Linked DNA regions of Homo sapiens: regions 1, 2, 4, 5 and 6 are each linked to region 3. Evidence: promoter capture Hi-C in 16 types of primary human blood cells and fetal thymus (Javierre and others, 2016). All regions are on one chromosome and are shown on one strand. Each heading gives the region's core, a stretch centred on a gene start or on the middle of the fragment in contact. The rest is flanking DNA. Distances are from core to core; before and after follow the strand shown.

What was found. The method cuts DNA at HindIII sites, captures the fragments that hold promoters and counts their contacts. A CHiCAGO score of 5 or more calls a contact.
Region 1: a fragment that was not itself captured here is called in contact with the fragment with the promoter of USP13 in region 3 in 3 of 17 cell types (naive CD8 T cells, activated CD4 T cells and monocytes); the score reaches 6.8 in naive CD8 T cells.
Region 2: a fragment that was not itself captured here is called in contact with the fragment with the promoter of USP13 in region 3 in 2 of 17 cell types (total B cells and total CD8 T cells); the score reaches 6.4 in total B cells.
Region 4: a contact is called between a fragment that was not itself captured here and the fragment with the promoter of USP13 in region 3, in 1 of 17 cell types (M2 macrophages). The highest score is 5.1, in M2 macrophages.
Region 5: a fragment that was not itself captured here is called in contact with the fragment with the promoter of USP13 in region 3 in 4 of 17 cell types (naive CD8 T cells, M1 macrophages, total CD8 T cells and 1 more); the score reaches 5.9 in naive CD8 T cells.
Region 6: a contact is called between a fragment that was not itself captured here and the fragment with the promoter of USP13 in region 3, in 2 of 17 cell types (neutrophils and activated CD4 T cells). The highest score is 8.2, in neutrophils.

What each region holds. Positions count from the first base shown.
Region 1 is chr3:179,066,646-179,071,280 of GRCh38, forward strand. It overlaps ZMAT3 (zinc finger matrin-type 3), which reads right to left. Exons shown (of 6, transcript NM_022470.4): 2 at 838-1,164. The coding sequence starts at 1,107. Among named protein-coding and RNA genes, the nearest start is that of ZMAT3, 2.8 kb to the right of the region's middle. The HindIII fragment of the contact is 3,964 bases long and covers 190-4,153 here.
Region 2 is chr3:179,010,838-179,015,188 of GRCh38, forward strand. No RefSeq gene overlaps it. Among named protein-coding and RNA genes, the nearest start is that of ZMAT3, 59 kb to the right of the region's middle. The HindIII fragment of the contact is 730 bases long and covers 2,296-3,025 here.
Region 3 is chr3:179,651,465-179,656,129 of GRCh38, forward strand. It overlaps USP13 (ubiquitin specific peptidase 13), which reads left to right and starts at 1,576. Exons shown (of 21, transcript NM_003940.3): 1 at 1,576-1,929. The coding sequence starts at 1,762. RefSeq lists silencers at 1,308-1,387, 1,398-1,737 and an enhancer at 1,406-2,049. The HindIII fragment of the contact is 8,280 bases long and covers 1,115-4,665 here.
Region 4 is chr3:180,585,443-180,590,409 of GRCh38, forward strand. The region is part of intron 1 of TTC14-DT (TTC14 divergent transcript); the gene reads right to left. Among named protein-coding and RNA genes, the nearest start is that of TTC14-DT, 14 kb to the right of the region's middle. The HindIII fragment of the contact is 4,154 bases long and covers 1-3,688 here.
Region 5 is chr3:180,621,228-180,626,166 of GRCh38, forward strand. All of the region lies in intron 14 of CCDC39 (coiled-coil domain 39 molecular ruler complex subunit), which reads right to left. Among named protein-coding and RNA genes, the nearest start is that of TTC14, 22 kb to the left of the region's middle. The HindIII fragment of the contact is 4,519 bases long and covers 1-3,510 here.
Region 6 is chr3:179,031,635-179,036,067 of GRCh38, forward strand. All of the region lies in intron 2 of ZMAT3 (zinc finger matrin-type 3), which reads right to left. Among named protein-coding and RNA genes, the nearest start is that of ZMAT3, 38 kb to the right of the region's middle. The HindIII fragment of the contact is 8,661 bases long and covers 1-4,433 here.

The sequences.
Region 1 (4,635 bases), core at 922-3,421, 580 kb before region 3:
TCCTTGATTATCTCCCAGGTCTCTTTTCTCCAAAAAAGGAAATTATTTAACTTTATACAGACAAATGTCTAGAATAAAAAGAAATATTGTACCGTCTCTTGCTAACCAAAGTTTAATTTTCCATTTGTTCTTAGGTAATATTACCCTTTAAAATGGTCCTTTCCACTAGCTATTCAACATGGAGGTGAAAGCTTTAAATCTTAAAAACCAGTATTAGTTTACGCTAATGGGCTAAAATAAATCAGAGTATGTTTATTATGAATGAAGGATAGGGCTCAATATTGCAATGTCATTTTATTCTCACCACAAAAAGATACCTGTGTTTTCCTTACCAGTGATAGGATATATAAGAGTTAGAAGTCAAAAATGGAAAGCATAAGAGTCATGCACAGAGGTCACCTCGAAATGATGCAAATTATATTAGCTTCTAAACAATTTTACACTGAATTGAGTTCGGTACATCATGGGTTTTTTTGTTTGTCTGAGACAAAGTCTCGCTCTGTCACCCAGGCTGGTAAATAGTGGTTTAAATACTTGTTCTTCTTAAGACTACAGGTTCAGATGCCAGCATAGATCATTTACATTTGCCTACAAAGACTGGTAAGCTATCGCATGCCACACAGCTTAGTGTAACAGGTTGAGATCCAGTCTACAAAAAGTGATACTTATTTTTAAAGTAAAAACATAAGGCTTTTAATCAAACAAATTCATAGTTAGTTGTTCTCTAAGCCATCTTGGTATTCCAGGCACAGTCATATCTGGAGAGACAACTGCTAAATAGCCAGAGCCCTGAAATGTTCACCCTACTCAATGCCTGGTTTTCTTTTCTCCCTTTACCTGATAATGAGCCTGGGCTTGCTGTGCAGAGTTCAAGGTGACATTGCAGAGTTTGCAGTACAGGGGCTTACATAGCTCCTCCAGGGCACAGTCTTGCTCCCCTCCCTTCGATAACTCTTCTTCCCCTGCAAGAGGCAAGGAAGCCTCCTGCCCAAAAGGCTTCTGTGGTGGAAGCTGCAAGGTTCCTGTAGACCTGGTGGCCACTGACATAGGAGGCGAGGGTGAGGGCTGCTTAGGTGGAGGAAGCACGGCGTGTTGCAAGAGGATCATTGGGTAGGGAAGCCTGGGGCATAATCCAGTGGGTGATGAGAAGCAAGGTCTTCAAATCTGAATCAACAGCAAAAAAACAGAAAAAAAAACTCACTTGAAAATCAGACTTCAGCAAGATAACATGTAAATGACAACATAATCTGACCCTTTCTTCTACTTCTCCAAACCCATCTTTGGGACTTCTTTCCTTTGGCCTCATTTAGCAGACTTCCCCTGCCTGTTAATTCATGTTAACACGGTGCTCTTCCACTGAGAATGGCTTTATAGATTTGGCTTTATTTTGCTTGGCACAGTTCCAACTGCTATCCCTTTGGCCCGTGAACATTAACAGCATTGCATCCACGGCTAAATCTAAAAGTCACATGGCTGAAATGGACATCAAATGTCACCTAGTCCAGACCCCTTCCCTCAGGCACACTTACACTTAAACACTCTTAATGATAATCATGCACAGACAAAAACACCACGAGCTGTCCAGGTGTGGTGGCTCACGCCTGTAATCCCAGCATTTTGGGAGGCCAAGGTGGGCAGATCACCTGAGGTCAGGAGTTCGAGACCAGCCTGTTCAAGACAACATGGTGAAACCCCGTCTCTACTAAAAATACAAAAATTAGCCAGGTGTGGTGGCGAGTGCCTGTAATCCCAGCTACTCAGGAGGCTGAGGCAGGAGAATCGCTTGAACCGGGGAGGCAGAGGTGGTCGTGAGCCGAGATCGTGCCATTGCACTCCAGCCTGGGTGACAGAGCAAGACTGTGACTCAAAAAAAAAAAAGACCACCAGCTAAAAATCTTAGCAAACATATCTTCCAACCAACCAATATCAAAAAGAGTGTATAAAAGAATATCATCTTGCAGAATTCTTAAAGCACTTATAGAACTAGCTAAAATTTCAGGGAACTCTAGGAGTAGCCTAAAGTATGACAGAAATAAATAAAATATGTTCCTTCTGATCAACTAGCAATATTTAAGTAGTTGAGCAAATGTATAGCAGAGGTGGCAAACAGCCTGTGGGCCACATACAGCCACAGATGTGCTGTTTGGAATATACAGTTTTGTTTTCATTTTTTTAAGTCGAATTAGTTGTTAGCATTTAAAAATCAAGAGATTCATGGCTTCTCTTGAAAAAGGATGATCTGGCATCACTTGGCCCACATTCCTATATGGGACGCAATTAGCTAGTTAGTGCTCAGAGGCACTGTGCCCTCTAGCGAGGCCTGCCTTCTCTGGGACACCTCAGTCCCCACTCAGCTGCTGCCTGTACTTGTTACTTGCCTGTTCTCTGTGAGCTCTTGAGTTTACAGCCCTGCCTCATACAGCCTTAGATTATATTCATCAGCCCCTGTAAAACCCAAATTTTTCCTCCTTCTCTAGGTAAATTACCTACACAAAATAAGGTATCAAGGAAATGTCCAATGGAGTAATGGATCACACCACCATAAGCCACAGTATAATTCCAGTTCCTCAATCTTGAGGCTATTTCCCTCCTCCTTCTTAACAAATAACTGATAGTCTCTATTATAATTCCCTCAGAAAAGACCCAAAATGTTCCTCTCCCTCTTCAATCTTTATCCATAATGTCTCCTGCCTCCCCCCCAGATGGCGCCGTCTAACCCTGAGTGTCTCAAAATGAACCACAGTACACCCTTTGAGTTCCCAAGATTCTAATTAACCCAAATTAGAATCCTTATTTCAAAATCCACAATTCCCTCCACTCTCTCAATACAGTATTATTAAAACCTCTTCTCTTGGTCAATAGAATATGGCTATTTTAAGCTGCTGAAATTTTCCATCTGCAATGGAAATGTGTACATTATGGCAATAATAGAATTACTAAAATGAATCAAGTAAATTTTGAAAAGTTAAAGTCTATTTTACCATATTTGATAACTACACAGCACCTGAAAATCAAGTAACAACTTTCAGACGAAATTTGGGGTGGGGAGGCAACAAAGGAAATCAGCGTGATGGGAAAATAATGTAGTTAAGGACAAAGTGCATAAGTATTAGTCATAGAATTTAACAATACTTCTCATTAATCACAAAATTTAGAAAAATGATAATATTATTTAATTTTTAAGCAGAAGTGTACTGCCCATATCTCTGGGAACATAAAAGAAAAGCAATATAGAGTTTTAACATTTAAAAAGTCAGGTTCTCTGTAATGGTATTATTTCTCTTAATTGAATCAAGCAAAGATAGTCCAGAAAGCAAAGACAGATATGGTCATTTTAGAAAACGGAACTAAGTAGACAAAGAACAGCTTTTAAAAAGTTTAACTACCTAATAATAATAATTCATAATGTTGAAAAGCTACTGATGTCAAATTGCCACAAACATTCTGCTAGTTCATTAGTGAAAAGGTGGGGGGGGGTGTCAAAACCTCTGGATAAAGGAAATCAGCAATATAAACAGAAAATCAAATGCTACCAATTGCCTAGGCATGTCTGGACTTGTTTTATGAAAGCTCACTTTCACTTGAGGAAATTCTAGCATGTGTCTCCCCCAGTGTTATCTACAGGTTTCCCTCAAAATAAAGATCCTTCTCAAAGAACAGAGGCACAAAAGGCCTCCTACCAGAGGTGACAGTTACCTGATTTAAAGAAAAAATTCTTGCCAAACACAGATTTACCCATTATCACATTTGATCTTTACAATTTTTAAAGAGTAGCTTGATATCCCAAATTTATTTCTTGTTATATTTAACAATCAACACAATGTCGACTCCTCAAAAAAATCTATGTATGACAATTGCATCAAATATTAGTACATTTGCAAACAAAAATTAGTATAAAATATAAATCTTAAAATGAATAAAACCAAGTCTTCAGTGAATGCATGAATGATGGAATACAGAGACCCAAAACATGCAACTCAGATCTGTTCAACTGTTGCATTGGTTTAAAAGGGACTAATTTGAAGACTGGCATAAATATTCTTCAAATCTTAAAAACCAGTCACTTTGATGCTTGCGATGGCATAAATGAAGGATTTATGCTGGTTAATGTCCTGGTTTGGAAAGGAGCTAAGACGACATTAAAGAAAATCAAAGCTTCACAAGGTACCCTGTTTAAAGAAAATTAATTGTCATAGCATACTTAGTTTTAATGATTGGACTGGGGCCTACTCTTCACATACTGTGTTAAAGACAATCTCTTGTCTCATTTGGAGAAATCTACAGAGGAAAGAGAATAGAATAAAGGAACAGGTTAGGAGCACCTCAGCAAACTAGGTAAGTCTGTAATTGGGAATTCTGGAAATGAGGGAAAGGCAGCGAGCATTACTCAGAGGTCATCAGAACGCAGCAAGAAGGAATGAGAGGGAGAAAAGTTAAAAAAAATAATAATAATAATCACTTGAGGCAAGGTGTATCCTATAAAGAAGGCTCAAAAGAACGCAGAAAACTGGGGAAGAGGCCTTGGTGAATTGGCGAATGTTTTTCAGTCTCCGCTGTGACGGTTCCTAATCCTAGAGAACTGTTTACAGATTTGAATCAAAGCTACAGACAGTTCAGCGTCGCCCACATCCACCT
Region 2 (4,351 bases), core at 1,411-3,910, 640 kb before region 3:
CAGCTACCATGCAATCCAGCAATCCCATTGCTGGGCATATACCCAAAAGAAAGGAAATCAGTATATCAAGGAGATATCTGTACTCCCATATTTGTTGTAGCACTGTTCACCATAGCCAAAATTTGGAAGCACCCTAAGTGTCCATCAATAGATGAATGCATAAAGAAAATGTGATACCTATACATAATGGAGTACTCTGCAGCCACAAAAAAGAATGAGATTCTATTATTTGCAACAACAAAGGATGGAATTGGAGGTCAATATATTAAGTGAAATAAGCCAGGCACAGAAAGATAAATGCATGTTCTCACTTATTTATGAGATCTAAAAATCAAAACAATTGAACTCATGGAGATAGAGTGTAGACTGATGGTTACCAGAGGCTGGGAAGGGTAGTGAGGGGAGGGGAGGAAGTGGGGATGGTTAATGGGTACAAAAAAGTAGTTAGAAAGAGTGAATAAGACCTAGTATTTGATAGCATACCAGGTTGACTATAGTTAATAATAATTTACCTGTACGTTTTAAAATAACTAAAAGAGTATAATTGGATTGTTTGTAATACAAAGGACGAATGCTTGAGGGGATGGATACCCAATTTTCCATGATGTGATTATTATGCATTGCATGCCTGTACCAAAATATCTCATGTACCCCATGTATACACCTATGTACCCACAAAAACTAAAAAAAAAAAAAAAAAAAACTACAACCCAGGAAAATCTGCCAGATTGCCACTGCCTGTCTGTTTCAACTGAAGATGTTTCTAACCCAAATCTGGCCATCTTCTCAACTGACTGCCCTCCAGACTCTAAAGAAACTAATTTATAGGCTGTTCCAAATGTTAACGTTATTTTTCTCTGTTTTCATAGAAATGTCTCTTATCAAAGATGTTTGGCCTAACTTTGAGAGCCCATCTGCAATGCCACCTGTTGCAATGGGAAACAACAGTTTAACTGATGTAGTATCACAACTAAGAGACGGATTCAAGAAGATATGGCATGACATACTTATATTTGTTCTTTTCTGCTTATCCCAATTTGTTTTGCTCCCTCTTATCTCAAAACTTCTAACCCAAATCTCTCCATAGCTACCAATCCTACTTTAATAAGTGACACTTCTGTGTTTTTTTTTTTTTTTTGAGACAGGGTCTCTCTCTGTCACTCAGGATAGAGTGGCACAACCTCAGGTCACTGCAACCTCCCCCTCAAGGCTCAAGTGATCCTCCAACCTCCCCCTCAAGGCTCAAGTGATCCTCCCACCTCAGCCTCCTGAATAGCTGGGACTACAGGCACGTGCCACCATGGCTAGCTAATTATTTTTTTTTTTTCTGTAGAGATGGGCTTTTGCCATATTTCCCAGGCTGATCTCAAACTCCTGGGCTCAAGCGATCCACCCACCTCAGCCTCCTGAAGTGTTGAGATTACAGGCATGAGCCACTGCGCCCAAACATTAATAAGCGAAACGTTCTAAAGTTTCAAGTGGGGGACTAAAGGAAACTAAGAAATGTTTCACTCCAAAATATACTTCTTTGACATATTTTGAGATGACTATTCAGAGGGCCTGCAACACAAGAATCAGCCTGCAAAGCTGAGTCTTTTACGGGGATTTGCATCTCTAGAGGAAATAAAGTGAAGTAAACAACAGATGCAAACAGGCTTTTTCTGAAGCCCCACCTTGTCCAGAACAAGGCAAGATTAACTGAGAGCCTGACACCTTTAAAGGTTTTATAGAAACATCTACCACAGGCTCCCATCTCTTTTTTTTTTTTTTTTTTTTTTTTGAGATGGAGTCTTGCTCTGTCGCCCAGGCTAGAGTGCAGTGGTGTGCTCTCAGCTCACTGCAACCTCCGCCTCCCGGGTTCAAGCTATTCTCCTGCCTCAGCCTCCCAAGTAGCTGGGACTATAAGCACCCGCTACCACACCCAGCTAATTTTGTATTTTTAGTAGAGACGGGGTTTCACCATGTTGTCCAGGCTGGTCTCGAACTCCTGACCTCAGGTGATCCACTTGCCTTGGTCTCCCAAAGTGCTGGGATTACAGGCATGAGCCACCGTACCTGGCCTCCCATTTTTCCTTTCTGAGGGCTGCTACCTGTGAGATCATCTGCATAACAAGACCACCTTTGCAGCACACCTTGCCTCTTCTCTCCTTCCCATAACCTCTCATGCCACCATAACCTGTCTTGACAAGCTTCAAGCCCCTATTCTTTCTGTAACCTCAAGATAGTATTAAAGAGTTGTGAATGGAAAATAAAATTTTGGGACCCCCTATTCACCATACCTAAGGGAAAAAGTCAAGCTTGAGAACTGAGTCACACAAAACTGCCTCCCATTTTGTTCCTCAACAGCTACAAAGATGAAAGACTACCTACATACCTCCCTCGCAATTTGCTCACGAGCAAATTTTTTGTGGGCCCTCAAGATCCTTACCCTAAAACAGTTCTGTTGAATTTCACCCTGACAATAACAAACAATTTATCTTCAGAAGAACGGGACAAAGGATAGAACCAGAAGTCATACCTCTGCTCACCTGAGACAAATGCATATTTGACTGCTTCCTCTATTCTGTTTACTTATCTTATGTAAAAACGTAGATTCACTGAGCATGAGACAAATGCCTCTACCCTCTCCTTTCACATGTAAAATGTGGATCCACTGAACGCTGATGAAATCTTCAAAAGATTGCAACTTCTTGCCTCTTTCATCTACACTTCTTTTCTCTCCTGCCCATGTTTTCCCCTTTAAATATGGAAGCACTCAAAATCCTCTTTGGAAAAAAAGTGTGGGCCACAGATTCTATTGTGGCTAGTGGCTTTTTTTCCTGGGTGTATCATCAACCTTGGCAAAATAACTCTCAGTTGATTGAGATCTGTCTCAGATACTTTTTGGTTTACAGCATCAGCTGTCTGGACATTTGAGTTTTTCATATTTTGTATGACTCCCATGCCCATATGTACATTAATAAATCTGTATGCCTTTTTTCCTGTTAATCCATGGTCAGTTTGTTTTACAGACTCAAATTATCAAAGCTTCAGTGAAAAAAATTAAACTTTTATACACTTTGCATATATAAAATAATTTATAATTTTCCAAGTCTTCAGCTATGTACACCTATGGTCACAGTAGCATTATTCACAATAGCTAAAAGGTAGAAGCAACGTAAGTGTCCATCAGTGGATGAATAAACAAAATGTCATCGATACATGCAATGGGATATTATTCAGCCTTAAAAAGGAAGGAAAGTTGATAAATGCTTGAGGTGATAAGATACCCCAATTACCCTGATTTGATCATTACACATTGAATGTTTGTATCAAAATGACACATGTACCCCATAAATACGTACAATATTATATATCCCTAATTAAAAATAATTTTTAAAAATGAAGGAAATTCTGATACATACTACGACATGGATGAACCTTGAGGACATTATGCCAAGTGAAATACGCCAGACACAAAAGGACAATTGTCATATGATTCCACTTATATGAGGTACCTCAAGTAGTCAAAATCATAGAGACAGAAAGTAGAATGGTGGTTACCAGGGACTGGGGAAGAGAGAATGTGGAGTTATTGTTTAATGAGTAAAATTTCCGTTTGGGAAGATAAAAAATTTCTGGAGATGGAGAGTGATTATGATTGTAAACTAAATGGTTAAAATGGTAAATTTTATATGTTTTGCTATTTTTAAGGGTTTAATTTTTTTAAATTATTATTACATAAATGTCCATCAATAGAGGATCAATAACAGAAATTTTAGAAATCATACAAGGAAACACCACAGAATGAAAAACAATGAAATAGATCCACATGTGCTGGTATGGAATGCTTGCCAAGGTCACACACACACACACACACATACACACACACACACATACCCCAAGGTGATGAACAGAACAGTAGGGATGGAATGCCTCCATTCACGTTACATAGACTTTATCTGGAAAAGACTCAAGAAACTGCTAACCGCGATCAATTGCCGCTGGGCAGGGGGGACATGGCAGCATGGAGTTCAGGAGTGAGTTCAGGACTTATGTATTTCGAAAAAAAAAAACAATTCTTTTTGAAAACAGCAATCTTCTAAATTATCCATAGTACTGAAAGAGAGGAATAAAGAAGAAATAACTAGATCCACCCCTAATACCCCAGTTATGGGGATCTGAATTTCAAGAGGTCAAGTGACAAGCCAGGGAACACACTGGTGACAGAACTGAGACCAGTTACCCAGTATGTACTTTTTCTGAATGTTTGAAATATTTAATAAAACTACTTTTTTAAAAAAGTCTCTTTCTTCATTGCTAGCTTATTAAAGCAGAAAATATTGTTTTCCCCAAAAATAAACTATGTTTG
Region 3 (4,665 bases), core at 326-2,825:
AAATGTCTAGACAAGGAAATGCTGGGGAAAACAGTATGCACATATAAAGTTATGACTGGTATTATTACATTTCCTTCCAAAGAGGTTTATCGTTTTTATCCCCACCAACAATGTAATGAGGGTCTACTTCCCAAACCCATGCTAACTCAATATATCTTTACCAGCCCAAAGGATGAAAAACAGTGTCTCACTGATTTAATTTGTATTTAATCTAAGATTAAATTTTAAGTTTTGTAAAACCAAGTTTATCTCTGTAATTGGAGAAAACATCATCCATTAACGTGAAAGGTAATAAGCTGATGAGACTAAATTCAAAGCAAAAGCTCGCTGAGAGGATCTGCCCAATGAGGAAGATGACAGTAGTGTCTGATTTTTTGCTCAGTGCCACCTCCTCCTTTTCCAACAGATAGCATTTGGGAGTGCTGAGTTATAAGAAAGTGTGGTGCGCTCGAGGCTTGCTTGAGGGTATGGAAATCTTGAGATAGGTCTGGAGAACCAGGGAGAGTTAAAAGAGAAAAAAAGTAAGAAAAAAAAAAGAACTTAAGGACTATCTGATCTGAGAGAGGCTTACAAAAATTAGCGTTTTGGTTCACTATTTCTCGCTATTTCTGCATTTCATTAACTGGCAGGGATCACTGGATACTCTGTCATGAATACATATGTTGGGTGTAGTTAGAGAACCTCAATGTCATTGAACCCGTCTTGTGGGTTTTTTGGAGAGAATGAGAGTATGCTGGGAGACATGCTCTGCTTGCAAATGATCAACCCCCGAGGCCAACCCCATTCATCATTTATTTTGAGGAACTGATGATCAAGACAGGAATATGTATGCCTGCCTACAAAATCCTCAAATCAGGCCACTGAATGTTCGACATGAGAACTTTGAATCACATAGAAGATACTCCAAAGGCAGAGAAAAATAGAAAGCCTTCCGACGCCCTGAAAAAATCTTGACCATCCCTGACTTCCCCCAATATGTAAGAAAACCTGTATTATTATTACACACACACTCCCACACACACCCCGCCCTCCCCCACACACACACCCTCTATCCTCACTCGATCTTATTCTATTCGCTCTATTTTTGAGCCTTGGATGTTAAAGTAAGGAACGAAGCTTAGTGGGGAAGCACTGAAGTGCATGGCGCAAATTTAGATTTAAGCCTCACGTTAGATTTCAGATTTGCACATCGAGTCCCGCCCCTATCCAATCCGGGGACGTCACCGCCCTAGTCTTCGGCTGTTTTAAAAGCAAGCGGTTTTTAAAACCCCCAATCCTGCTCTTTGTGTTGGCCTCCTCGGAGTTGCCCCTCTGCAAGCCAACAATTCGGGATAGAAAACACCTCCGTGGTGTTTTCCCGGGGCCCTCCCGCGCCGCGTTCGGCCGCCAGCCCGCTCGAGCTCCCGCGCCAACGCCTCAGGGGTTCGCCCTCCGCCCCCCGCCGCCGCGCCCGGCCCACGCGCAGGGCCCCTCTCCAGCGCCCCCTCCCCGGCACGCTGCGGCTGGCGCTCCCCAGCCCCGCCTGACGCTGCAGCTGGGCCGGAGACTCGCCATTGGATTAAAAATAGCGTCGCCAGTCCGCCCCAAGCCCGCGGTGCCCGCTCCCGCCCCGCAGCCCGCTCTCCCCGCCCGCCCCGGCTCGGCCGGCTGCCGTTGCCCGCGCAGCCCGCCCGTCAGCCCGCTCGCTGGCGCCGCCGCCGCCGGCAGACCCCGCGCTCCGGCTCCGGCTCGGCTCGCTCGGCTCCGGTGCGCGCCGAGGCCATGCAGCGCCGGGGCGCCCTGTTCGGCATGCCGGGCGGCAGCGGAGGCAGGAAGATGGCTGCAGGAGACATCGGCGAGCTGCTAGTGCCCCACATGCCCACGATCCGCGTGCCCAGGTCCGGCGACAGGGTCTACAAGAACGAGTGCGCCTTCTCCTACGACTCTCCCGTAAGTGAGGCGCCTCGGGGGAGGGTCGCGGGGCCGGCGGCCTGCGGCACGTGAAGCCGGGGGAGAAGATGCGCAGTGGCGGCCGGGACCTCTTCTCTTCCTCCGGGCGGCAGAGTTGGCTCAGGAACACTGCAGTTCGGCAGACACTTAGTGAGCGCCCCAGGGCTGCTGCAGCCGAGGACTGGCTCGTGCTGGTGGTTTTGCTCCGCCAGCCTCCCCAGGCTGGAAGGGCCCGATTCCCAGCAGCTTGCACACAGCCCCGCCGCCGTTTAAAGATAGATGAAATACAAGAGTTCCCTGTTCCGAACTGCACGTTGCAGATCGTTTGCGTCCTCCGCGGGGCAGAGCGCAGGGCGGGTAGGTGGACGGGATGATCCCCCCACACCCCGGGACACACACAGCCCTTCTTTTTCTGGGACCACTTGCTTTGCTCAGGGATCCCCACTTCTGGACAATTCTGATTTGCTCTCTGAGCTTTTCTTCCACCAGTTCCCATTTCACCCCACTCCTTTTCTTGTCTTTAGAATGTCAGGGCCAGGCGCGGTGGCTCACGTCTGAAATCCTAGCACTTTTTAAGAGGCGGAGGCGGGCGGATCGTTTGAGGTCAGGAGTTCGAGACCAGCCTGGCTAATATGGCGAAACCCCATCTCTACTAAAAAAGAACCCCAAAATTAGCCGGGCGCGGTGGCGGGAGCCTGTAGTCCCAGCTACTCGGGAGGCTGAGGCTTGAGAATCGCTTGAACCGGGAAGGAGGAGGCTGTAGTGGGCCGAGATCGCGCCACTGCCCTCCAGCCTGGGCGACAGAGCGAGACTCCGTCTCAAAAAAAAAAAAAAAAAAATGTCAGACGAAACCTTCCGGTGCCTCCACTCGGGCAGCAGAAATAGGGGATCTACTGGATTGCGATGGTTTTCTTAAGCCTTCCCCACCTTGCCCTTCTAAATGAGTCACTTGGACTGACATGCGCAAGTATAAATTATTAAAAGTTCAATCCCGAGTCGTGACCTCGGAGAATGAGGAGGAAGCTGAGAGGGATCGCCGCCTTCCACCCGGGGCGGTTGGTGGTGGTTTTCACCTGGTTCTATGTGAATGTGTGAGAAGCAGCAGGAGGGTGAATGTCCCTTTCAAAAGTCAAAATGGGCTTCAAAGTGACTCAGCTGTCTGGCGTTTATCATGTCTTTTTGAGGACCAGGTTATTTTTATCCACCCACTTTAGATCTCATATGTCACCCGGCAGATCTCAATGCATTGGGAGGCGCATGGATTGGATGGACCGAGGCAGGTCTCGCAATGGTCTAATGTATTTTATTCATAGCATGTGGACTATTGTCAGAGGGGAAAAGAAAAGTCCAAATGAGCGGCAACATTTCCAAAGTTTCCTTTATTATCTGTGGGTTGATTTTGGCTGGCTTCAAAGCACTTTTGCTCGACACACACTGGAGTATCAGAGTTAGTATCCTCTCTGTGACATTTAGTTTTTTTATTTATGGTAACTCCATATCATTTGAGGGATGAAACCTAACTTAATTTTTGATTGTTTACTTTTTTTTTCTTTCGAAAAGATCCACAGAGTGGAGTGTGACAATCGGCAGTCCTTTTTTAGGATGTTATCCATAAATTATTTGAAAATGCCATTTTCAGATTGTATGGCCAGTGTTGGGCAGTTCCCACTAATAGCTTCTAAAGGTGGAGAGGGATGATGGTCCTAACTTAAGCAATTGACAGATTGTTACCTCCAGGAAGAAGAAAGTGGCCTAAGTTTTTTAGGATAGCACAACATGGAAAGTGGGTCAAATGACTTTCCCCATGTTTTGATTTGGGCTCTTCTTCAAGTTCTGCTTACAAACTTTGCTCTTGGAAGTTTTTGCTGCATAATGCAGTGGATAACAGGTGTGGGAAAAAAGGCTGATTGTTTTAATTCATTTCCACAAATAGTTATTGGGAGCTTACTGTGTGTGTTTCTAGAATGTTACTATTCTAGAAACATCTCGTCCAGTGTAGACTGATGATTGCAATCATATCACAGCAGTTCCTTAGGGGAGACTGGGATTATTTACAAGGCTGATGAATCAGTATATTTCATTATCTATGTTTCAGGGGAGGAAGGGAAGGTTTGATAATATTTATCTTAAAGCACAGTGCGTGATAATGGGAAGGTTTTTTTTGTTTTGTTTTGTTTTTTTTTTGAGTTTTGCTCTTGTTGCCCAGGCTGGAGTGCAATGGCACAATCTCAGCTCACTGCAACCTCTGCCTCCTGGATTCAAGTGATTCTCCTGCCTCAGCCTGCCAAGTAGCTGGGATTACAGGCGTGTGCCACCACACCTGGCTAGTTTTGTATTTTTAGTAGAGGTGGGTTTCGCCATGTTGGTTAGGCTGCTCTCGAACTCCTGACCTCAAGTGATCCACTCACCTTGGCCTCCCAAAGTGCCAGGATTACAGGCGTGAGCCACTGCACCCAGCCAGTATTTTGTTATGGTATGTAACACTATACTATGAATCCAATAAGGGATTCTTCAGCACCTACTATGTGCCATCTCATACATGCATGACTGTAAGGAGCATAAAGAGCAAAATCCATTGGTGCTAAACACGCCAGAAACTTTAATCCACAAGTGCCACGGGATGTCTTAGGGAAAAGGCCAAAACCAGCTGAGTGGAAAAAAGAAATCATCCCTGCATTGGTTACTGTTGAAAAAGGTTATGTACAAAGATGGCTAGAAAATAAGGGAGATCAACAT
Region 4 (4,967 bases), core at 362-2,861, 930 kb after region 3:
TAAGATTGCCTTCTTTTTGCCCTCTTTCTCTTCCCTAGTTGTTGCTGGGATGGGAGCCTTAACTAAATGCCACCATGCCATCCTGATAGAGGTTGTGTACTTTGAATTTTAACTGGTCTCGTTCTTAGGAGCTGGTATCTTTGGAGATCATGTCTCCCCACTGTTTTGATAATCTACTGAGATGTGGCAGCATTTTCTTCTGATCTTCCCACGTCTTCCCTAGGGGTTTCCTCATCCTGGCTGAGGAAACGAATAGGTCTCCTCCAAGTCTGTTGAGTTCCCCTTTCTCACCTATATTCTGTGCCCTTTCTTTCTTGTGGACACAGAGAAACATTCACTGCTTTTTTCCATACCTCTTGGACTCCACAGTATCCCAGGGTTGTCAGCAGGTATTCATTGTTCTAAAGCATCCCTTATGCATTTTCTGATTCATTTCTTTCAAGTCGCCACAGCATGGTAAACCTCGGCAAGCCTACTAGAGCTCCAGAGAGAAGGTGTAAGACACAGAGACTAGACCCATCAGAGGAAGACGGGGAGAAGAAATTTACCTCTACTGTCTTCCTTCCTTGTACTTGCACCAGAATTTATTCCAAGGCAGAAACCGAGAGAAAAAAACAATGCCTAAGTTATTTTTCCTTTCTTCCATCTCCATTCCTACTTTTTTTTTTTTTTTTTAAGACAGATTCTTGCTCTGTTGCCAGGCTGGAGTGCAGTGGCGTGATCTCGGCTCACTGCACCCTCCTCCTCCTAGGTTCAAGCGATTCTCCTGCCTCAGCCTCCTGAGTAGCTGGGACTACAGGCGCACGCCACCACACCCAGCTAAATTTTTGTATTTTTAGTAGAGATGGGGTTTCACCATGTTGGCCAGGATGGTCTCAATCTCTTGACTTCAAGATCCGCCAACCTCGAACTCCCAAAGTGCTGGAATTACAAGCGTGAGCCACCGCACCCAGCCTTAATTTTTATACATATTATAATAGCTCTTTAAAAGTCCAAGTCCATTAATTTTGCCTGTTTGTAGAACTGTTTCTATTAATGGATTTTTTAAACCTGGTTAGGGATCACATTTTCATGGGTTTTTTTGCATGTCTAGTAACTTTTGATATCTATATATATATTGGATATGTTGAATTGCATTGTCTATTTTGAAACTTCCTTTTCAACTTTGTTAAGAAGGGTCTAGAAGAGATTTTACTATAAGGCTAGTTTTAGCCCTTCTTCTTAGGACTAAAACCAAAAAGGGGTATGGCCTTTTGGGGATCTCTAATGAATTGCCTGAGTGTTCCACAGGGTCTTTCCACCCTACTTGTTCAGCCCTGTGAAATTCTGATACTTGTTCAGCTTATAGCTTCCCAGTAGTTGCTCTTTCCCTGGTCATTGTTCTTTGGTCTTGTGGAGTCTCACCCTATATTTGTGCAGATTAGTAAGCAAATACTCAAAAGGAACCTATGCAGATTTCTGGAGTTCTTTCCCTGCTTGGTTCTCTCCTCTTTGGTCTTCTACCCATAAATTTCAGCTGTTTGTGCCTCTCCAAACTCTAATATCTGTCTCATCATCTCAGCAAGGCTGCTATGCTCTGTCTGGGTTTCACCTCTCTGCACCTTTGCCCAATAAGTGCCTCTAACCAGAAAACTCGACAATAATAACAGTTATCTAGTTTATTTTTTTTTTCGCTCAGACAGTGAAACCCTTCATGACCTGTTGTCCGATATCTGAAAGCAGTTGTTTCATATAATTTTGTTTCCTTTCTGTGGCAGGGGATTTGTTAATGGCGGAAGGGTTAGTCTTGTACCAGTTACTCAGTCATAGTTGCAATCAGGAGTCAAGGCTTTTGATTTTCTTCATGTATACTATTATTGACAGTCCCTAAAACAATAGTTACCCTTCTATGGTAAGTGCCCAACTGAGAAAAGGATCACCATTTAATCACGCAGACCAGGAAAAAAAATCAATAATTCCTAAGTCATGCCACCATACCTTATCCCCAGTTGCCATGCGTCTGCAAACCAGATTTGTCAAATTTTATTACTACTGCAATGACTTTAATCCAGGTATGTGACGTGGTAAGATAGGGCTGGAAGACTGATTGGCAATACAGGACAAAAGATAACTTACTGGAACAGAGGAAGAAGATGGGTACAGGAGCTAGAAATGACTTCCAGAAGAAAAAAAAAGGAACTAAATACTGTTCTTTTCTAATTAAACTGAAAAGAGTTCCTTAGGGAGCTGGTATTTGATCACTTCATGGTCTCTGGGAAAATAAAACATAGTGTGTGGAAAAGAGTAAATGGATGCTAAAGTGAGGAAGATCTAAAAGAATTTTCATCCCTCCCTCCAAGACCTAAGATGTGACATGGTAGGGCTAGCCTTAGAGAGGAAGCATGTCATATGCCCCAAGTGAACATGAGTCTTGCATGGATCTTAGAGAAACTGAAATGAACACCTATGATAGAGTTTTAGGAAAACTGAAAGCTGCATACAACCTAAATGGACAAGTATGCCAAAAATATCACATATGAGTTCTCAGAACAGATAAGGCATCAATGTTTGAAAAAGACAAACAGTTTTGTAAAAGACAGACTTCCAAGAAAAATCTCAGCAGCAATATGCTGTCAATCCACTTAGTATTATCTATATAAAACATATTTTTGTTTAATCATTTTTAATATAATCTATCATAAGAAAATCTGTATCCCAGTTCAACTCTCTTGCTTCCATGAACGCTGGGAAAAGAGTTTATGTAAACCAAGACTATTCCGTAAAACAAATATCCTAGTAAATGGTACAGAAATTTCACTGATACAGTTTGCACAACACTAGCTCCAAGGGTCCTACAGAGACTACTTTGTTATGCAATTTAGAAAATGAGTTATCTTTAATTCAGCCTGAAATAAAAGGTAATGGCAATGGCTTAGAAATATTTTAATTATACAGATATAGTCAAGGTGATGATATTTATTATTGTGAAATTATACTATTTTATTGTGAATTTTTTTCTTCCCTACATCTTTAAATCATAAAAGGGTACTAGATATTTTATTCTGTGGAGCTGATGGAAGCTATAAAAAACAGAATACTTTTCCTTTCATATCCAAGTCCATAGGTTTAGAATTAAGGAACATTTCTCAGGATGAAAGCAAAACATCAGCAATAACCACTCACACTATCTTTTTTCAACTGGGATTTTTCTATGATTTGTTCATTACTGAATTCCCAGCACCTACAGCTATTTGGAACAAGGAGATAGTCAAATAAACGTTAGGTGAATTTCTGAGTTACAATTCTCATATTGATGCTTGTCACTACGATTCCAATGAAAATGGATACAATAAATTCTGGATTATTGGCTAATAAAAAGTCTCAGGAAAAAAATAATAAAAACATAGCCAAACAACTTTCCTAACATAACGGTGTTTCTTTTGTTTGTTAGAAGTGAAATGTGGCCACAGAAATAGACATGAAATGGGTAACAGCAAAAATCTAGGCTGCCACAATTAGGAATGATCTTCGATAGCTCAGAAAAGGAAGTCACCTGGAGTCAATGACCCATGCAAAATCAGTCATCGCATGACCCCAAATTTTTTACTCAGTGCTCAACACATAAATTATTTTTCAGAAACCACCATGGAGGATAAGGAATATCTTTAAGTTCTAGAACTTGAAAGTGGAAAAATAAAAAAGCATTATAAGCTTAGAAATTTTGTTGATAAAGGCCTTTAAATGAACTTAAAGCAATTTTACACCAAAAGACTATGAAATCTCTACCATTCATATTATAACTCTGATGTAAGAAATGATGATGCAACTCAGATATTGGCTGTGTATTAAGTGTGAAACCCAGTAGATTAAACAAGGCAGTATTTCTATACATTCCTAGTTACTTCAGCTGTTCCTCAAATCATGTGATTTCCAGCTGCTTCACCATCATGGGGTTGTAATGCTTTAAATAGGCTTCATTGTCTTAAAATATGGCATTGAAGTAGGACATAATTGCAATGGTTAATTATATGTCAACTTGGCTGGGCCACGGTGCCCAGATATGTAGTCACACATTATTCTAAATGTTCTGTGAGGGTGTTTAGGGGGTGAGATTAACAATTAAATTGATGAACTTTGAGTAAAGCACATTGCCCTCCATCATCTGGGTAAGGCCTCATCCAGCTAGCTGAAGACCTGAATAGAACAAAAGATTGACCTCCACCAAGAAAGAGGGCCATCTACCAGCAGATAGCCTTCAGACTTAAACTGCAGCATTAGCTTTTCCTTGGTCTCCAGCTTGCCAACCTACTCTGTATGTTTTGATTTGTCAGCCTCCTAAATCACGAGCCAATTCCTTAAAATAAATTTCCTTCTAAATATACATATACCCATCGTATTGGTTCTGTTTCCCTGAAGAACCATAATACAAGAAGTATGCAGATATTTGTCCCATAAGCATGGACTACCACAGAGAGACTATTCCTAGTCACAGATACCAATTTTCCCCACTGGGTCACCACCACCAGGATGTGACTGCTGAAGGCCGTGCACACCACCTGGGTGGGGACCCCACACACCACCTCTGTCTTCTGTTTTGATATCACCAACGGCGTGTCTTCCATGGTGGGGCTCTTCAGTGGCAGCTTTAATTTAGGTTAAAAAGAAAGGGGGAAAAAAGGAGTCAAACAGTACAGCCTTGGGGCTCCCAAAAAAGTAGCACCAGGCATTGAAACAGAAACGCAAGGAGGCCCATTCAAAAGAGGCCAGGCGCAGTGGCTCATGCCTGTCATCCCAGCACTTCAGGAGGCTGATACAGGACAATCGCTTGAGGCCGGGAGTTTGAGACCAGCCTGGCCAACATAGCAAGACACCCCCCATCTCTACCAAAAAAAATACAAAAAAAATTAAAAATCAGCCAGGTGCACCTGTGGTCCCAGTTACTCAGGAGGCTGAGGGGGGAGGATCACTTCAGCCCGGGAGGTCGAGGC
Region 5 (4,939 bases), core at 1-2,500, 970 kb after region 3:
GGAGTGGAGGTATCTTTTTGATTTAATGATTTCTATTCTTTTGTGTAGATACCAGGTAGTAGGACTGCTGGATCAAAAGGTAGTTCTATTTTTAGTTACCTGAGAAACCATTCTGTTTTCCATAGAGGTTGTGTTAATTTACATTCCCACCAACAGTGTATAACCATTCATTTTTCTCCATATCCACACCAACATCTCTTGTTTTCTGTCTTTCTAATGGCCATTCTGATTGTTGGCTTTAATTTACATTTCTCTAATGATTAATGATGATGAGCATTTTTTCATATTCTTCTTGGCCATTTGTTTGTCTTCTTTTGAAAAATGCCTACTCATGTCCTTAGCCCACTTTTTTTTCTTCCAACTTTTAGGTTCAAGGGCTACATGTGCAGGATTGTTACATGGGTAAATTGTGTGTCATGGAGGTTTGGTGTACAGATTTTTTTGTCACACAGGTAATAAGCATACTTTCCCCAGTGTATGTTCTTGTCAGTTTTGTCCAAGATCAGTTAGCTGTATGTGGGTCTATTTCTGGGTTCTCTTTTCTGTACCATTGATCTTTGTGTCTCATTTTATACCAGTACCATTGATGTTTTGGTTACTATAGCCTTGTGATATAATTTGAAGTCAGATGATGTAATCCCTCCAGCTTTGTTCTTTTTGCTTAGGATTACTTTGGTTATTTGGATTTTTGTGTTGCATGTGAATTTTAGGATTGTTCTAATTCTGTGAAAAATGAAATTGGTATTTTGATAGGGGTTGCATTGAATCTGTAGATTCCTTTGGGCACCATGGTCATTTTACCAATATTAATTCTTCCAATCCATGAGCATGTAATGTTTTTACCTTTGTGTCATCTATAATTTCTTTCATCAGTGTTTTGTAGTTTTCCTTATGGAGCTCTTTTACCTCCTTGGTTAAATACATTTCTAGGTACTGTTTTTGTATCTGTTATAAATGGAATTGCCTTCTTCATTTGGTTCTCAGCTATATCATTATTAGTGTTTAGAAATGCTATGGATTTTTGTACCTTGATTTTGTATCCCGAAACTGCTGAATTCATTTATCCAATCTAAGATTTTTTTTGGTGGAGTTCTTAGGGCTTTCTAGATGTAAGATCATATCATGTGAACACAGATAATTTAACTTCCTCTTTTCCTATTTGAAAGACTTTCATTTATTTCTCTTGCCTGATTGCTGTGGTTAGGACTTCCAGTACTATGTTTAATAGGAGTGGTGAAAGTGGGCATCCTTGTCTTGTTCTAATTCTTACGGGAAATGCCTTCAGCTCTTTCCCCATTCGATACGATGTTGGCTGTGGGTTTGTCATAGATGGCATCTATTATTTTGAGGTATGTTCCCTCTATGCCTGGTTTATGGAGGGTTTTGTCATGAAGGAATGCTGAATTTTATCACATTGCTTTATCTGCATCTATTGAGATGATTATATGATTTTTGTCTTTAATTGTGTTTATGTGATGTATCATGTTTATTAAGTTGCATATACTAAACCATCCTTTCATCCCTGGCATAAAACCCCCTTCATCATGGTGTATTATCTTCCTGATGTGCTGTTGGACTCAATTTGCTAGTATTTTGCTGGAGATTTTTGTGTCTGTGGTCTATGTTCATCAGGAATATTGATTTATCGTTTTCTTTTTTGTGTTGTGTCCTTGTCTGGTTTTGGTATCAGTGTGATACTGGCCTTATAGAATGAGTTAGGGAGCATTCCCTCCTCCTCAATATTTTGGAACAGTTTCAGGAGGATTTGTATTAGTTCTTCTTTGTATGCTTGGTAGAATTTAGCTGTTACTACATCTTACCCTGGGCTTTTTTGTTGTTGTTTGGAGATTTTTATTATTATTATTATTATTATTATTATTATTATTATGGATTCATTCTTGCTATTTATATTATCGGTTTATTCGGGATTTTTGTTTCTTCCTGGTTCAACCTTGGGAGGGTGTATTATATGTTTCCAGAAATTTATCTGTTTCCAGGAATCCATTTACTCTAGGTTTTCTAATTTATAAGTTAGTATAGTCCCTGATGATCTTTCATATTTCTGTAGTTCAGTTGTAATGTCTCCTTTTTGTTTTCCGATTTTGTTTGCTTGGATCTCTGTTCTTGATTAGCTAGCAGTTTATCAATTTTGTTTGTCATTTGAGGAACAAAGTTTTAATTTCCTTGATCATTTGTAAATTTTTTTGTCTCTATTTCATTTAGTTTTGCTTCTGATCTGTTATTGCTTTTGTTCTGCTAACTTTGGTTTGGTTTTGTTTTTTTTCTTGTTTTGCTAATTCCTTGAGGTGCAGTGTTAGGTTGTTAATTGATGATCTTTCTACATTTTTGATATAGGCATTTAATGCTATAAACATCCCCCTTAGCATTCCTTTTGCTCTATCCCACAGGTTTTGGTATGTTGTGTATCCATTTTCATTCATTTCAAAAATTTTTTTAAATTTCCATCCTGATTTCTTTGTTAACCCAGTGATCATTTAGGAGCATATTGTTTAATTTCCATATATCTGTAAAGTGCCCAAAGTTTTCTGAGCATTGATTGCCGGTTTTTCACTCCACTGTGGTCTGAGAAGATTTTTTTTTTTATTTTTTTTGAGACTTGTTTTCTGGCTTGTCTTGGAGATGTTCCATGTGCTTATGAAAAGAAGGTATATTATGCAGTCGTTGGGTAGAATGTTCTGTAGATGTCTGTTAACGTCCATTTGGTCTAAAGCCCGATTTAAGTCCAGTGTTTCTTTGTTGATTTTCTGTCTTGATAATCTGCCTAGTGCTGTCAGTGGGGTGTTGACCCACCATTATTGTCTTGCTCTTTCTTTATTTCAATCTGGTAATGCTTGTTTTATGAATCTAGGTGCTGCAGTGTTGTGCATATATAATTAGGATTGTTATATCCTCTTGCAGAAGTAATCCCTTTATCATTATATAATAACCTTCTTTGTCTTCTTTTACTGTTTTGATTTAATATCTCTTTTATCTAATATAAGTAAAGCTACTCCTACTTGCTTTTGGTTTCCATGGAATGTCTTTTTCCACCCCTTTACTTTCAGTATATATGTCTTTTCCAATAAGGTGAGTTTCATATAAGCAGCATATTGTTGGATCACATTTTTTATCCATTCCACCATCTATATGTTTTAATTGGGTCGTTTGATCCATTTACATTCAAACTTATATTGATATGTATGATTTTGTTCCTGTCATATTTTCAACTGTTACCTAGTTGGTTTATAAATTATTTCTTTTTTTTCTCTGTGTGGTCGTCTGTGTTTTGGTAGAATTCTGTTATGTTGCCAGTGATGCCTTTCTCTTCCTCTTTTGTGTGTTTGTTTTATAAGACCTTTGAGTCCTGTACTTTTGTGTGTTTTCACGATGGTGAATACTGACATTTTGTTTCCATTTTAAAACTCCTTTGAGCATTTCTTAGAGGACCAGTCTAGTGGTGAAGAATTCCCTTAGTGTTTGCTTTGCTGGGTATTTCTTCTTCCTTTATGAAGCTTATTCTTGCTGGATATAAAATTGGGGGCTGACAGGTGTTTTTTGGTTTTATTTTGTTCTGTTTTTGTTTTTGTTTTCCTTTTAGTGCTTTGAAAATTCTGTCCCATTCTTTTCTGTCCTATAAGATTTCTGCTGAGAAGTCTGCTGTTATTCTGATGGGGTTTCCTTTATAGGTGACTAGATGCTTTTCTCTTGCTAATTTTAACTTTTCTCTTGCAGTTTCACTTTGACTTTAGACATTCTGATTACAATACACCATGATGAGGTATTGTTTTGAAATGTATTTTCCTGGGGATTGCTGGGCCTCTTGTGTCTCGGCGTCTAACTCTCTTACTAGACTTGAGATGTTTTCATCAATTATTTCCTTAAATGGGCTTTCTAAACTTATTTCTCTCTCTTACCCCTCAGGCATAACTGATAATTTGTAAGTTCAGTCACTTTACTAGTTCCAAACATCTTGAAGGCCTTGTTCACTCTTTTTTATTCTTTTTTTTTTAATTTGTCTGACTGGATTATTTTAAAAGACCTGTCTTCAAGGTCTGAGATTCTCTCTGTTGCTTGTCTAGTCTGTTATTGACTCTTTCTTTTGCTTGTGTAGTCTATTTTTCTTTTTTTTTTTTTTTAAGATATCTCCTTGGTGAATTTTTTGCTCATACCCTGAATTGATTTCTGATTTCTTTATATTGGTTTTCAGATTTCTCTTGCATCTAATTGAGCTTCTATCAATATTTTGAATTTTTCATCTGGCATTTCAAGGATTTCTTTTTGAGTGGGATCTATTGCTGAACAGTTGTTATATGGTGGGTCACATTTCCTTGCTTTTTCATGGTTCCTGTGTCCTTCCATTGATAGATGCATATCTCATGTAACAGTTGCTTCTGCTAATTTTTTGAAATTGCTTTCCTAGGAGAGGATTTTCTCCTGAAGAAGTACATATGTAGTTGGTGTTTTGATGTGGGGTGCCTGTGGTAGTGTGGTCTTTGTATGATTTCTTAGGCAGTACACAGGTTCAGTGGTATCTGTGATTTCCTCAGTGACTTAAGGTATGGTTATTAGTTGAGCTTTGGTGAAGTTTTGCTGGGGTCTAGGATGCCAGGTAAGCCTGTCTTTGGGCCCCATTGGTGGCAGTGGTGGGCTGAGTGTATCTATTCTCAGGCCAGAGAGTAGCTTATACTGTCACTGGTGTTAGTGGATCCTGGAAGGCTGATTCTTGGGCCTCTGGGTAGCTTGCTCAGATGTTGGTAGTGGGAATGGTGGGCCCGACATGCAGGCGGGTTTTCAGGCCCCTGGGCAGCTGGTGTGATGCAGGTAATGGCAGTAGCGGTGGTAAAGCAACTCACTGGAACCCAGAAGGTCCATACTGGTGTTGCTGGTAGCTGCAATGGGTTGGACATGCTGGTCCTCTGGCCTGTTGGTAGTGCATGGG
Region 6 (4,433 bases), core at 688-3,187, 620 kb before region 3:
CGGTGGCTCATGCCTGTATCTCAGCACTTTGGGAGGCCAAGGAGGGTGGATGACCTGAGGTCAGGAGTTCGAGACCAGCCTGACCAACATGGTGAAACCCCATCTCTACTAAAAATACAAAAATTAGCTGAGCATGGTGGCACATGCCTGTAATCCCAGCTACTCGGGAGGCTGAGGCAGGAGAACCACTTTAACCTGGGAGGCGGAGGTTGCAGTGAGCGGAAATCACACCACTGCACTCCAGCCTGGGTGACAAAGTTAGATTCTGTCTCAAATAAAAAAAAAAAAAACTCTCCCTCTCCCTCCCCCTCCCCCTCCCCCTCCCCCTCCTCCTCCCCCTCCCCCTCCTCCTCCCCCTCCTCCTCCCCCTCCCCCTCCTCCTCCCCCTCCCCCTCCACACAGCCTCCCTCTGATGCTGATCCGAGGCTGGACTGCTTGCCGCCATCTCGGCTCACTGCAACCTCCCTGCCTGATTCTCCTGCCTCAGCCTGCCGAGTGCCTGCGATTGCAGGTGTGCGCCGCCACGCCTGACTGGTTTTCGTATTTTCTGGTGGAGACGGGGTTTCGCCGTGTTGGCCGGGCTGGTCTCCAGCTCCTGACCGCGAGTGATCTGCCAGCCTCGGCCTCCCGAGGTGCCGGGATTGCAGACAGAGTCTCGCTCACTCAGTGCTCAATGTTGCCCAGGCTGGACTGCAGTGGCGTGATCTCGGCTTGCTACAACCTCCACCTCCCAGCCGCCTGCCTTGGTCTCCCAAAGTGCCAACAGTGCAGCCTCTGCCCGGCCGCCACCCCGTCTAGGAAGTGAGGAGCGTCTCTGCCTGGCCGCCCATCGTCTGGGATGTGAGGAGCCCCTCTGCCCGGCCGCCCAGTCTGGGAAGTGAGGAGCGCCTCTTCCCGGCCATCATCCCGTCTGGGAAGTGAGGTGCGTCTCTGCCCGGCCACCCATCGTCTGGGATGTGGGGAGCACCTCTGCCCCGCCGCCCCGTCTGAGATGTGAAGAGCACCTCTGCCCGGCCGCGACCCCGTCTGGGAACTGAGGAGTGTGTCTGCCCCACCACCACCCCATCTGGGAGGTGAGGAGCGTCTCTGACCAGCCACCCTGTCTGAGAAGTGAGGAGCCCCTCTGCCCCGCAGCCGCCCCGTCTGGGAAGTGAGGAGCCCCTCCACCCAGCAGCCACCCCATCTGGGAAGTGAGGAGCGTCTCCGCCCGGCAGCCACCCCATCCAGGAGGTGGGGGGCAGCCCCCGCCCGGCCGCTACACCGTCTGGGAGGTGGGGGGGCGTCTCTGCCCGGCCGCCCCGTCTGGGAATTGAGGAGCCTCTCTGCCCGGCCGCCACCCCATCTGGGAGGTGTACCCAACAGCTCATTGAGAACGGGCCACGATGACGATGGCGGTTTTGTCGAATAGAAAAGGGGGAAGTGTGGGGAAAGGAAAGAGAGATCAGATTGTTACTGTGTCTGTGTAGAAAGAAGTAGACATAGGAGACTCCATTTTGTTCTGTACTAAGAAAAATTCTTCTGCCTTGGGCTGCTGTTAATCTATAACCTTACCCCCAACCCCGTGCTCTCTGAAACATGTGCTGTGTCCACTAAGGGTTAAATGGATTAAGGGCGGTGCAAGATGTGCTTTGTTAAACAGATGCTTGAAGGCAGCATACTCGTTAAGAGTCATCACCACTCCCTAATCTCAAGTACCCAGAGACACAAACACTGCGGAAGGCGGAAGGCGGCAGGGCCCTCTGCCTAGGAAAACCAGAGACCTCTGTTCACGTGTTTATCTGCTGACCTTCCCTCCACTATTGTCCTATGACCCTGCCAAATCCCCCTCTCCGAGAAACACCCAAGAATGATCAATAAATACTAAAAAAATTTTAAAAAAAAGGAAAGAAAGAAAAGAAAAGAAAAGAATATGGGATTTTAGGAAAAAAAAAAAAGAAGTATCACATTTTCCAGTGACTTATGTCCTCACCCAACTTCTTGCCATTTATATGCCACAGATAAATATGAATTTCATGACACTCTGATCTAATGTACTTTATAAGTTAGTAATGAAATGGATAATCCAATTATTCTTTTAAAATTGCCCTTACAGAGTATCTTTTTACTTACAAAGGATGTTCATTGCATTTATTCATTTGCTGCTCACAAAAATCTTGTAAGAGGAATTTGTTAATATTGTCCATTTATGACAGCCAAGGAACTGCAATCCAGAGACTGTAAGGAGCTTGCCCCCAGCTCCCTTCTCAAGGGCTAAATAGCACAGCCAAAGCCTGAGACAGGCCTTCCAAATCAAAGAATGGCCCTTTTCCACTACAGCATGATGGCTTCAAGATGCACTAGGAACCTCTACTAACATCAACTTGCCTTTCTCATCACGTTTTATTAGTCACATGATTATATTCCTTGAACTGACACAAACTAGTGGCAAGGGTCAATAGTACAAAAGCATTCTAAATAAGGGTAAAACAGTATATTATTCTTTAAACTGCATTGTAAAACTCAAACCTGCAGGCAAACATTTATTCACCATCTATTTATATGCTAAGCCCTAGAAATAAACTAAGGACTAGCACATAGAGGAGGAGACAGATACCTAAGCAGCTAAATAGAGTAATGAACTAAGATCCATCTTCTCCTCACTTCAATACCCTAAAGGTGCTTTTACCATGGTCACAGTGAACTCCAGAGTCAAATCCAGTGGTCACATATGTGCCTTCATCTTACTGGAACTCAAAGTAGCATGACACAGTTCATTTCCTTCTTGAAACATTCCTCCTACTATCATCTATACTCCTTCTTCCCTCCCCACCTCTCCTCCTCTATCAGACCTCTAAACTCTACAATGTCCAAGGACGCACCCTTAGCCCTCTTTTATTCTCTGACTCTAGGTTATTCTACCCAGACCTATAGCTTTCAAATACCATGAGTAAGTTGGTGACTCCCCAAATCATCAATCTCCATCTTTGACCTTCAGAACCACATATCCAGCTTCCTCCTGGTCATCCATACTTTCACGTCTTAAGAGGCATATCCAACTTAAAACAACTTTTGATTCCTCCTCCATAGAACTTTCTCATCACCACCATCACCACCACCACTAGTCATCCACAGTAGGTAAATGGCACCACCATCCACAAAATTACCCAAGAAAAGCCAAGGGGTCCTTTTCCTGATTCCATCCTTCCCTAAGCCCAACACATTCAACCCATCAGCAAGTCTTGTCATTCAAAATACATCCCACATCACTCCACTTCTCTCCATGGATACTACAAATACCACAGTAATCCAAGGTACCAACATTTTTCATTTGCAGTAGGTAACAGTGGTCATTTGCAGTAGGTAACAACTCCTAATTGGTCTCTGCTGTTAATCTTGTCCTCCTAGAATTCTCCTCATTATAAACCCAAGTAATAATTCTTGACATGAATCAGTTCCATGTCACTCCCTCACATAAAACTCTTCCAATGGCTTTCTGCTATACTTAAAATTGACAAATCTTACCTATAAGGCCCTACACGATCTGGCCCTGTCTAACTGACAAATCTCACCTATAAGGCCCTACATGTTCTGGCCCCATCTAATTGACAAATCTTACCTATAAGGCCCTACATGATCTGGCCCCGTCTATCTCTTGGGCCTTATGTCAGACAGCACTCCTTCCTTTCCCCTGCTCATTATGCTCCTGGCTCACTAGGCTGCATGTGCTCCTTAAACATGCCAAGCTCAGGCTAGCTCCAAGGCCTTTGTACTTAACTGTTCCTTTTGCCTAGAATGTACCTCTTGCAGATCTCTGTATGGATTGCTCCTTCTAATCTTTCAAGTCTCAACTCAAACTGGACCTCACTCACTCTCAAGTGTCACAACCACTCCCCCTCTCCACACCACACACACTCCATCATATTACCACACTGGCCGGTTTTATTTTATCTTAGTATCACTAATCACTATCTAAAATAATATAGTTTGTTGACTTGTTTTTTTTTCTCTTTCCTCCGCTCTGTAATGTAGACTTCTTGAAAATGAGGACCTCATCTGTCTTGTTTACTGTTCTAATCCCAATGCCTAGAATAGTTTCCAGAATATAGCAAGCAAGCAATAAATAACTGTTGGATAAATGAACCAAGTATTATAATGAAGATAATAAACTGCTAGGAGAACACAGAGAAGGAATTTCTTACTCCTGCCTGAATGTATCACGGAAGACTTCCCTGAAAAGGGGGCAACTGACTCATCTTTTTAAATGAGCAAATGTTTACAGGGGAGGTAAGCAATACGGAAAAAGAAAACTGTGCACCAAGAAAATAGCATGAGCAAAAGCCCAGCCTTCTGTGTTGAGGGGCTACAAGGAGAGATAACGGTCTTCTAGATCCTTTGGAGGAGAGGCAAAAATTGAAATACACAGGGGGCTCATTCTTAATGCCTTTGCCCATGAT